3 separate regions of the Homo sapiens genome follow, and regions 1 and 2 are each linked to region 3. The links are contacts of gene promoters, found by promoter capture Hi-C in blood cells and fetal thymus (Javierre and others, 2016). All regions are on one chromosome and are shown on one strand. Each heading gives the region's core, a stretch centred on a gene start or on the middle of the fragment in contact. The rest is flanking DNA. Distances are from core to core; before and after follow the strand shown. Region 1 overlaps LOC124903278 (a long non-coding RNA gene). Region 2 overlaps OR4K2 (olfactory receptor family 4 subfamily K member 2). Region 3 holds the start of OR11H4 (olfactory receptor family 11 subfamily H member 4).

What was found. Contacts are between HindIII fragments. The CHiCAGO score rates a contact against its expected background, and 5 or more counts as called.
Region 1: a contact is called between a fragment that was not itself captured here and the fragment with the promoter of OR11H4 in region 3, in 1 of 17 cell types (erythroblasts). The highest score is 6.1, in erythroblasts.
Region 2: a contact is called between a fragment that was not itself captured here and the fragment with the promoter of OR11H4 in region 3, in 1 of 17 cell types (erythroblasts). The highest score is 5.1, in erythroblasts.

What each region holds. Positions count from the first base shown.
Region 1 is chr14:19,899,085-19,902,998 of GRCh38, forward strand. It overlaps LOC124903278 (a long non-coding RNA gene), which reads right to left. Exons shown (of 4, transcript XR_007064055.1): 4 at 3,377-3,913. Among named protein-coding and RNA genes, the nearest start is that of OR4K5, 20 kb to the right of the region's middle. The HindIII fragment of the contact is 2,116 bases long and covers 241-2,356 here.
Region 2 is chr14:19,877,725-19,881,391 of GRCh38, forward strand. OR4K2 (olfactory receptor family 4 subfamily K member 2) reads left to right here. Exons shown (of 2, transcript NM_001005501.2): 2 at 1-3,667. Among named protein-coding and RNA genes, the nearest start is that of OR4K2, 4.4 kb to the left of the region's middle. The HindIII fragment of the contact is 200 bases long and covers 1,885-2,084 here.
Region 3 is chr14:20,237,718-20,241,702 of GRCh38, forward strand. It overlaps OR11H4 (olfactory receptor family 11 subfamily H member 4), which reads left to right and starts at 1,569. Exons shown (of 2, transcript NM_001004479.2): 1 at 1,569-1,614. The HindIII fragment of the contact is 16,826 bases long and covers 1-3,985 here.

The DNA.
Region 1 (3,914 bases), core at 49-2,548, 340 kb before region 3:
TGCCTTAGAATATAAATTCTATAAAGTCAGGACCTGCTATCTTGTACCTCAATGAATTTCCAACTCCTAGTTTAGTATATGTAAACTAGAGTTCCTTGATCATTCAATGAAGAAATGCAGTTATGTGCTGTTACAAAGTGATTTCAAATTAACCAGGCATTGAACACAAAAAGCTTGTAACAGGACAAGTAAGCCATGACAGAAGGCATAATTGTAGTTAAGAATAAAAGTTATTTTTTAAGCTTCCTAATTTGAACGTTTAAAATATATACAAAAGATGATAATGTGCTCACATGCTCCCATCTGTGTATTTATACCCAGGTTTCATAGTTATCAACATATGTCTAGTCTTTTCTTTTTTCCTATGGTTTCAAGTAAAATTGCTAAGTACAAGGGTCAATTGCACACATATTTTGTAGACATTGCCAAATACACTTCCTTTTTATTGCATTCTCATTTATATGAGAGTACCTCATATATATGAGTACCTCATAGACTTCTCAAGAGAGTACATTGAAATTTTAGATTTTTGTCAATGTAATATATGAAAAATTATATTTCAGTGTAGTTCTACTTTTAAACCAGAAGTTCTTAAAATTCCCCATCAAAACCCTCACAAAATTGCTCTTGGTTCCTGAGAAGAATGAGTAAGAGGATTGGCATGGTGAAGAAAGACTCTCTGTTCAGGCTTTCCTGTGCATTTTGCTGCTAAAGCATGGCTTTCTCAAAACACTGTTATAATAAACAGATGTTACCATTCTTTGCCCCCCCCCCTCAGAAAGTCAACAAACAAAATTCCTTGAGAATCCAAAAATTCTGTTGCCATAACCTTTGTTTTTGACTGGACAACTTTGATTGTACCAATACTATCTCTTGGTAGTCATTCTTTTGATTGTGCTGTGTCTTTGGGATCATACTGGTAAAGCCATGTTTCATGTTCTGTTACAATTCTTCAAAGAAATATTTCAGGATCTTGATCCCACTTGATATAGTTTGGATGTTTGTCCCCTCCAAATCTCATGTCTAAATGTGATTTCCAATGTTGGAGGTAGGGCTTGGTTGGAGGTGATTGAATCAGGAGGTGAGTCCCTCATGAATGTCTTAGTAGCATCCCCTTGATGATAAGTGAGTTTTCGTTCAGTGAGATCTGGTTGTTTAAGAATCTGAGACTCCTCTTTCTCTTTCTTGCTCCTGTTTTTGCCATGTGATGCACTTTCTCCCCACTTGTCCTCTGTCATGATTGTAAGCTCCTGAGGCCCTCATCAGAAGCAGATGCTGGCACCATTCTTCCTACCAGTTAAGGAACTGTGATCAATTAAGCCCCTTTTCTTTATAAATTACCCAGTCTCAGGTATTTCCTTATAGCAATTCAAGAATGACCTAATACAAAATTGGTAATGAGGAGTGGGACGTTGCTATAAGGATACTTGAAAATGTAGAAGTAGCTTTGGAACTGGATAATGGGCAAAGTTTGAAAAAGTTTGGAGGGCTCTGAAGAAGACAGGAAGATGAAGGAAAGTTTGGAACTTCTTAGAGACTGGTTAAATAGTTGTGACCAAGATACTAATAGAAATATGGACAGTGAAGACCACACTGATGAGGTCTCAGATAGAAATGAGAGTTTTGGGGAACTGGAGTAAAGGTCACTCATGTTACACCATAGCAAAGAACTTGTTTGCATTGTGTTCATGTTCTAGGGATCTGTGGAAGTTTTAACTTAAGAGTGATTACTTAGGGTATCTAATGGAAGAAATTTCTAAGTAGTAAAACATTCAAGATGTGGCCTGGTTGCTTATAACAGCCTATGGTCAGATATGAGAAAAAAGAAATAAATTTAGATGTATTTAAAAGGGAAGCAGAGTGTAAAACTCTGAAATATTTTTAGCCTGGACATGTGGCAGAGAAAGAATCCAATCCAAGCAGGCTGTAGGGCAATCACTTGCTAGAGAGACTAGCATGACTAAAGGGCAGCCAAGTGCCAATACTCAAGACAATGGGAAAAAGGCTCCAAATGTATTTATTTCAGAGATCTTGGAGACAGCCCCTCCCATCATAGGGACAGAGGCTTAGGAGGAAAGAACGATTTCAGGGGCCAGGCCCAAGATGGCACTGCTCTGCTCAGCCTCAAGACACTGCTCCCACATTCCGGCTGCTTCAGTTCCAGCCGCAGTTCAAAGGGTCCCAGGTACAGCTTGGGCTGCTCCTTCACAGGGTGCAAGCTGTAATCCTTGGTGCCTTCTATGTGGTGTTAATCCTGCATGTACACAGAAGAATACTGTGGCAAGGGTGAAAAAGGTTTGGCAGCTTCCACCTGTGTTTCAGGGGGTATATGAGGAAGCCTCTATTCCCAGGCAGAAGCTTGCCACAGGGGAGGAGACTTCACAGGGAACCTTTACCGGGGCAATGCTGAGGGGGCAATGTGGGGTTGGAGTCCCCACACAGAGTCCCCACTGGGGCACTGCCTAGTGGAGCTGTGGGAGGGGGGACACCACTCTCTAGACCCCAGAATGGTCAATTCACCTGCAGCTTGCACACTGTGCCTGGAAAAACCACAGGCACTTAACTCCAACTTGTGAGAGCAGCCATGGGGACTGCAACCTGCAAGGCTACATAGGCAGAGTTTCTCAAGGCCTTAAGAGTCCACCCTTTGCATCAATATGTTCTGGATGTGGGAAATGGAGTCAAAGGAGATTATTTTGGAGCTTTCATATTTAATGACTGCCCTGCTGGTTTTCAGACTTGCATGGGACCTATTATCCTTTTCTTTTAGCCAATTTTTCTCTTTCAGAATAGTAATGTTTACCTAATGCTTGTACTACTATTAGAGCTTGGGAGTAAATAACTTCTTTTGATTTTAGAGGCTCATAGGTGAAAGGAGATGAGTCTCAGATGAGACTTAAGACTTTGGATTTGATATTGGAACGAGTTAAGACGTTGGGGGACTGTTAGTAAGAGATGATTATTTTGTGATGTGAAAAAGACATGAGATTGGGAGGGCCAGGGGTAGAATGATATGGTTTACATATTTTTCCCCCCCAGATCTCATGTCGAAATGTGATCCCCAGTGTCGGAGGTGGTGCTTGGTGGGAGGTGTTTAGATCATGGGGGCGGGTCCCTTATGCATGGCTTTAGCACCATCCATTTGGTAATGAGTCGGTTCCCACGAGAACTGGTTGTTCAAAAGCATGTGGCATCTTCCTGCTCCCCTTGCTTCTGCTCTCACAATGCGATGTGCCTGCTTCCCCTTTACCTTTTGCCGTGGTTGTAAGCTTCCTGAAGTTCTTACTAGAAGCTGAGCAGATGCTTATGCTATGTTTGTACAGCCTGCAGAACCATGAGCCAATTAAACTTCTTTTTAAAATTAATTACCCAGTCTCAGGTATTGCTTTACAGTAATGCAATAACCTACTAATATATACTTGTTTAAAATTGCCATTGAAAGCTCTGCTCTCATCTGCAGCTGATCTGGGCACAATGGTTTTGACACCCATTGGGCAATATGATTGCTCAACTTTAATTTTTCAGTCGGAGTTGTGTAAGCTGAACCACTTGAGATGCTTACAGTGTTGACTATTGTTTGTGCGGTTAATAATCAGTCCACTTCAATTAGGGCTGAACAACATGAATTTTTTGCTCACAAATTGATATGGATGGTCTGCCATTGCGGGCGTCTTCTTCAACATCATCTAATTCCTTCTTGAAACAAGTTATCCATTTGCAAATACTTGATTTCTTTGGGCCATTGTACCTATAAGTTTTTAGTAAAGTTTCAATTATTTCACCATTCTTCCATTTTAGCTTCATCATAAATTTGATGTGTATTTTTGCTTCAATTTTAGCAGAATTCTTGTTGCTCTCATAGGACTTCTTTTCAAATTGATGTCTTATCCTTCTTAGTGCCTCAAACTAGATCC
Region 2 (3,667 bases), core at 735-3,234, 360 kb before region 3:
AGAAAACTCTAGATATATTTTATTTCGAATGTTAATGACGTCCATAAAATTGCCGTAAGTGTAGCAATCTTTACCAACCACTTTTAGTTCATCATCAAAGCAATACAGTCATGATATTTCTTTCTGATAATGCGGAATGAGTAGGGAGGCTGGAGAATTCTGCAAATCAGAAAATATGAAATGAGTTGCAGATCAGTACACTTTGTTTTGTGCAGACACGATGGTTGCTTAGTTCCTAAGAAGTTAAAACTAGAATTGAGAGACACAGTTTATAACAGTTGAATTTATGGGGAGTCCATGCTTTCATTTTAAAGTGTTATATTGCTTTCCATTTTGGTTATTTTTTTCTTGAAATATTTGGATGTAAAAATAATGAATCTGCATTTAGTAATACATTGTCAATGTAATAAGTATGTTTTTGTACACAAATAGGTTTTATTACTGTTATAAATAAATCTGGTAGGTTCAATATTAGCTTTAATGTATACAAAGTATTACTACCACCTGCTGGTACTAACTGGAATTGCAAGTATTGAAAGAGGAAAAATAATTGTGTATACCCTACTTTGCAAATCATCTTTAAATGATGGCAAACATTCATGAGTTAACTCTTATTTAGAATTTTCTAAATGATATTGATAAAATATAGTGTCTTATATATGATCCAACATGTATCCACAAAGGGAAAGATATGTTGCAACCACAGTATTTGATAATATCAAGTTGTTATTTTCTGGTATGATTGAGTAAATGGAGAAAACAAATGAAATGCATTAATTATCATTTATGAAAGATAATTAAAACAGAAAATCCTTAGATGTTCATATTAAACCAAGTTATAAAAGGAATTTATTTTTTCTTCATCAGTTTGTGTTTTATTTCTTCATTAATGTACTAAGCAAATAAGGAAAAAACTTACAGCTTGAAAGTCTGTGATACTGTGTTTAAAGCCTGAGCAGTTTTGAAATTATTAGATAATAACGTCTACAGTATTAACATAAAATAAAACATGCTTCTGTAAGCACAAGATTAGCATAATTCTATTTTAAATAGGGATACAAATAGGCCAATTTAGGTTTTGAGTGTGAACTTTCTCTTGGTTGCAGTTATATGTACAAATATGTTCATATTCAAGGACTTCGTTTATGTAGAATGTTTTAGCTGGTGCTTAAAAATGCTAGAAATAATTCTTTTACTTGACATATTTCTTTGTCCAGGGAATATTTTCAAAACTGTGCTGCTTTTTGCAATATAAAACTGTGGAATCTTTTGGAAGAGACGCTATTGATTTTCTGTGCTTTTGTGGAGAATTCTAAAACTCAAGAACATTTGCCAAAATACCCTCAAAGGTGTAGCTGATCAGCAGACAACTCTATAAGGCAAGTCAATAATGAGATTAAGTAGTTGGATTGATAGTAAAATTCTGTGGCTGATAATAAAAAGGATTACAGAAAGCCTTTGGAGGGCTTACATATATAAATGGAACTATCACATTTCTCGGTGGCTTAGTGTGAGGAGTCAATATTCATGGTACCTCTGCATGTTATATAAACACTTAAAAATCTTAGTTAGGACTTTAGGACTCATGGTGGTTGGTTTTATCGATATATCTCTTAGACAAGATGCTGACACTCTTTCACCAAGGATAACTGCAGTGACATGGCCATGGACTCGTTAAGCAATAGTAAGGATGGTGCCAGCTGCCACCAGAGTTTCCAGAGACAGAGATAATGTTCTGCAGAGAATACAAGATAAGCAGGCAAGTATAATTTTAAGTGATCTGCACTATCTGCAATAACACAACTGAGGGAGTTCTGGAGCATTTATAAGAAGAGTGTGTTGACAAGCAACTTCATCTTCCTCTACGTGTTTAGGAAGCTGTGAAGCTTGACAACAATTGAATGCAGATGGAAAAACTGTTAAAAATCAGGTATAGATAAAAACAGATAAAGTGTAAATTTTAATATGTGAAGGAACTGGATATATGTAATAGCAATAAAAACTACAAATTATGTTTGTTTCTAAAAATGCTTAAGAAAACTTTTAGAATACTATATGGTATAATGATGGTGGATTTACCATAAAGCTTGTAAAGCTTAGGTTTTATAACTCCTCCTTTGCATGGATTTCCTCGAAGGCCCTAGAATGGAAACTAACAACCTTTTATTAGTTATTTCGATTTTTTTTTCCTGAAACAGGTGTCCTCAAACTGTATAAGCTTTAAGCCTAGCTTGTCCAACCCATGACCTGCAGGTTGCATGCGGCTCAGGAGATGGCTTTAAATTCAGCCCAACACAAATTCATAAGCTTTCTTGAAACATTATAAGATTTTCTTGTGATTTTTTTGTAAAGCTCATCAGCTATCTTTAGTATCAGTGTATTTTATGTGTGGCCCAACACAATTCTTCTTCCAATGTGGCCCAGAGAAGCCAAAACTTTGGACACCCCTGCATTAAAAGGCTCTGCAGAATCTGAAGTCTAATGTGTAGTTTTAAAAGTCTTAGACTCTGGTATCTTTTTTTTTTTTAAACAGTGTTTAATACTACTTCTACTACTAGTGGTGTAAACTTAAGCTAAGTACTTAATACCTCTTAGCCTCAGTTTCTACATATGTTAAAGGAGATAATAGTGGTCTCTACACCACAGAGTTATTTGAGGCATAAAAGAAGCAAATAATATGAAGCATATGGTTGTCAATAAATGTTAGTCATTGTATCATTCTGGGTGATAACCTCTGGATATCTTTGTTTATGGGACTTGATAGTCTCTTGAGCTAACACTTGACTTGTTTAATTTAAAAGGTAAATTTTCATTTATATGTTTTAAATATTCATGTCTGTATATGTGTGTCAGTATTAATTTGAAAAATTAAAAGTAACTTCCACTAGAAAATTACACTGGTTCTTACATTAATTAAAGCTTCTGGAAACTTGTTTTTCTGTCTGTTCACAACTGTCATTAATCAAGAGAAGTATCAAGTTGTTGCTTAATCATTATGCTATTGCTTCTTTACAATGAATAAATATTAAATTGGTTTATTGATTTTAGGATGAATTCACATTACAATTGTTGTCAGAATAAGAATGATGTTTGACTCATATTATTAAGGTGAAGAGATAGGCAGATGGATAGATTAGTAGATAGATGAAGTTTTGTATTATATGAGCTGTCTTATGTGAAGTATTTTTCTGCATTGATAAGGGTTTAGGATAATGTGATCACTGGATTATGCTGCTATATAGAAGTTCTTGGTAAAATGCTGTTATTTGTGCATATCCAGACTCCTTATGAAAGTATTTTCAAATTTAAAAAACTACCAGTGAATCTATTCTCTACATGTGAGTTTTTAAACAACTCAGTTATAGCAAAATTTGTTGAGAGAGTTGGAGTAATCCTCCTATTTCCCTATTCTTTCCCTGATATTATTTTGCATGATTTTTGGATGTATATGTCAATTGAAAAACGGGGAGAAGAAAACAGCCAGGGAAATCTAATTCATGTGAACTTCTTGCATGTACTCTCAGATGCCAATGAAATCCGCTAAGCAACTTGATAGTTTTTTGGTTTATAAGTTTCTGTTGTGCTTTGTTGTTTGGAATTATTTTTAATGCTCTTGGTTACACCATGAGGTAAATATGCACAAATTATTCTGGAGCGTGTAGGACCA
Region 3 (3,985 bases), core at 319-2,818:
TATACTATATTATATATAGTATATATACTATATATATATATATACTATATATATACTATATATATAATATAGAATATATTATATATAATATAGAATATATTATATATAATATAGAATATATTATATATAATATAGAATATATTATATATAATATAGAATATATTATATATTACATATTATATATATAAATATATTACATATTATATATAATATATTATATATTATATATAATACGTATTATACATAATATATTATATATTATATATAATACATATTATATACATATTATATATATTATATATATTATATATAATATATATTATATATAAATATATACTATGTATATTTATATAGTATATATAATAGATGGTATATATATGCTACATAAATATATACTATATAAATATATAGTATAATTATCTAAATTATATAATTATAATTATATAATTATATAATTCTTAATTTATAATATATAAATTTATATATTTATATATAAATAAATATATAAATTTATATATTTATATATAAATAAATATATAATATATAATTATATATTCTATATAAATATAATATATAATTTATAAATATATAAAAATATAATTATATAAATATATAAATATATATACTATATAAATATATACTATGTATAACATACACTATATAGTATATAAATATATACTATATATAATATATAGTATATAATATTATATATAATATTACATTATATATATTTATTATAAATATATATTATATATATTACATATATTATATAAATTATATATATTTATTATATATTATATATAATCTATATATAGTATATATATTATATATAAATATATATACTATCTATTATATATAAATATATATATACTATCTATTGTATATATTATAGATGAGCCCCAGTGTTGGAAAGAGAACGCACTCCAGGGAAACTTGGGTAAGCCACTGAAACCATATGGGGAGAAACACAGGGCTTTACAGTAATCCCTGAGTGAAAACATAGATGTAATACTGATTCGCATGTTAAACCTCTCAGCAAATTCTGAGAAAAGCCTCTGGAGTCTCCAGGAATGAAGGCAGGGCAATAAACCACATATAATGCCCTCACCTGGAGTTTTCCTCAACAGAGCCAGTGAAGAGGAGATGCTTGATGCTGAGGTTATGCTCAATTCTGCCTCATTTCTGCCGTGCGCACCGCTGTCTCCAAACTGAGCCAGAAAAGCCATGATTGTAGGTAAGAAACCACTGCTATGATATGCTACAGAGTCTCTTTGACTTTATAAATCTGATTAGGCACTGTTTCTCTGCAAAGACTCAAAGGAGGCAGTATAATAGTATAGTATAAAAGTTCCATATGTGAATCCAGGACACATATTTATTGGGTAAAAAGTCATGCCCCTCTCTGAGCCTCATTTGTAAAATGAAGTTAGATCATTATACCATTTCTTCTAATTCTATGATTTTATGGTCATTAACAACCATCTTTCTGAAAACAATCTTACTTTCCAGGAATAATCAGGTGGTGTGTTCCTTCTCTCAGGACACCTGGGAAGACAATATACTAAGTGAGGGGCATTCAACAGAAGGCTATTAAATCAAGCTATCACACTTATGGTAGGTGGACTGGTGGGTTGATTGGTTGGTTGGTAGTTTCTTGTACTGGAAAGGAGTACAGTACATGAAAGAGCTGGTTTCGGCCGGGCGCGGTGGCTCATGCCTGTAATCCCACCACTTTGGGAGGCCGAGGCAGTCCGATCACGAGGTCAGGAGATCCAGACCATCCTGGCTAACACGGCGAAACCCCGTCTCTACTAAAAATACAAAAAATTAGCCGGGCGTGATGGCGGGCGCCTATAGTCCCAGCTACTCAGGAGGCTGAGGCAGAAGAATGGCGTGAACCCGGGAGGTGGAGCTTGCAGTGAGCCGAGATCGCGCCACTGCACTCCAGCCTCGGCGACAGAGCGAGACTGTCTCAGAAAAAAAAAAGAAAAAGAAAAAGAAAGAGCTGGTCTCCTAGGATTGTAGCTCAAATAATGATATATCTCAAAAATCAGGAGAAACAGTATGTTTGTGTCATAAAATAATGAAGATTCTATTCTAATTACCTAACTATTCCCAGACAGCGTTTTGGAGACTTTGGAGGGTGGTGTTATATAAAACTTTGTGGAAACAGTTTATTCCGTCAATGCGAAAACTCTGAAATTGATTACTCGGGTCTTTCTATTAAGCTCCCCAGCTTTTGATCATTCCATTACTTATCTACACTTCTCCAAAGGCTTCAGAAAAAACAATGTTGCTGCTAATAAAGCACTTGCAGAGTAGGGTAGTAGAAAAGACGAAGTGTAGTGTAAAGTTGTCAGTGTATAATGGAGAATGTCCTAAACTGTTATTCTCATCAAGCAGGCATTCAGAACAAAGGGCGGGAGGCTCAGATCTCACAATTCTGGTTCCCAATTTAAGTCTGAGCCTGGACTTGTTCTCTGACCTGTGTATAGCAGAGAAAGGGATGTATTTATGCTTCGTAAACAACAATCTGGAAATCACCTATTGAGCACCTTATTCAAGGAAGATGGTAAACAAATGCCTTTTAAATTCAGCATTGATTGGAAAGCTGGACAACTTTAGAACTCAGATGCTCCAAATTTCCCTTTTTATGCATCCTTAAAAACTACCAAAGAACTAGTGATGTTGAGATTCAAATCTTCGTTCCCAAGAATACCTGATCCTTCCTTCAACTTCTGTGTTCTTTGTTGCCTTTCACATTTTTCTTTTACATTTCTGACAAAGTTATGACTGGTGACCTGCAATAAACAAGACAAGAGATCTAAACTTAACAAGAAACTCAATATTGAAACTACCTTCTTTTTTTTTTTTTTTTGAGGTGGAGTCTCGCTCTGTCACCCAGGCTGGAGTGCAATGGTGTGATCTCGGCTCACTGCAACCTCCACCTCCTGAGTTCAAGCAATTCTTCTGCTTGGCCTCCCAAGTAGCTGGGATTACAGGCACGCACCACCACACCCAGCTAATTTTTGTATTTTTAGCAGACAAGGGTTTTCACCATGTTGGCCAAGCTGGTCTCAAACTCCTGACTTCAGCGATCTACCCACTTTGGCCTCTCAAATTGCTGGAACTATAGGCATAAGACATTACGCCCAGCCAAAACTACCACTTTTTTAAGACTTAATCAGCACATTTTAAGTATTAATCAAGTATAAGATTACTGTTGTTTAAACACATTTGTGTATTTTATTTAATTCTTAAATACATAAACTTGTTGCTACTGAAAAGTACATACCTAGTCAAATATTTGAAAATGTCCTTACCTTCCTTTCAGTAAACAAAATTCTAATACATAGGATTGCAGATGAAGCCCCATTTCATCTCAGATTCTTTTAGAAAATCCCTTTGTTTTCACCACCGAAAAAGCTCACTAAATAAACTAAATTTTTGTATAGAAAACATCATTTTCCTTATTTCATCTACATGGTATCTGATTACAAAAAGTAAGATAGTTCCTTTTTGTATAGTATGTGTAAAAAACATAAAAATAAACACTGCCGTTCGTTAGAGATGTTTTTAAAATATTATCATGGAGTTGTATCTCCATGCAGCAGTCAATCTATTTTGTTTTGTTCAAACATCTAAACCAATTTTATTTTTTTCAGTTATCCTCAAAATGTCTTTTCTAACAACTTGTGCTAAATAAGAGAAAATTGATGAACTTGTGCTAGAAAACCCATAATCAACATTGGAAAAACAAATCAAAAGCTGAAAAGGTCTTCTCAAGCATCCAAGGAAAAGAAAGAAAATAAATTTGTCTGGTTCTGCCACTAGTGTCTGGAGAGGTGGCCTGCCCCTCCACACCTGTGGGTATTTCTGGTCTGGTAGGACGAGAGACTGAGAAAAGAAATAAGACACAGAGACAAAGTATAGAGAAACAACAGTGAGCCCAGGGGACCGGTACTCAGCACACCAAGGACCTGCA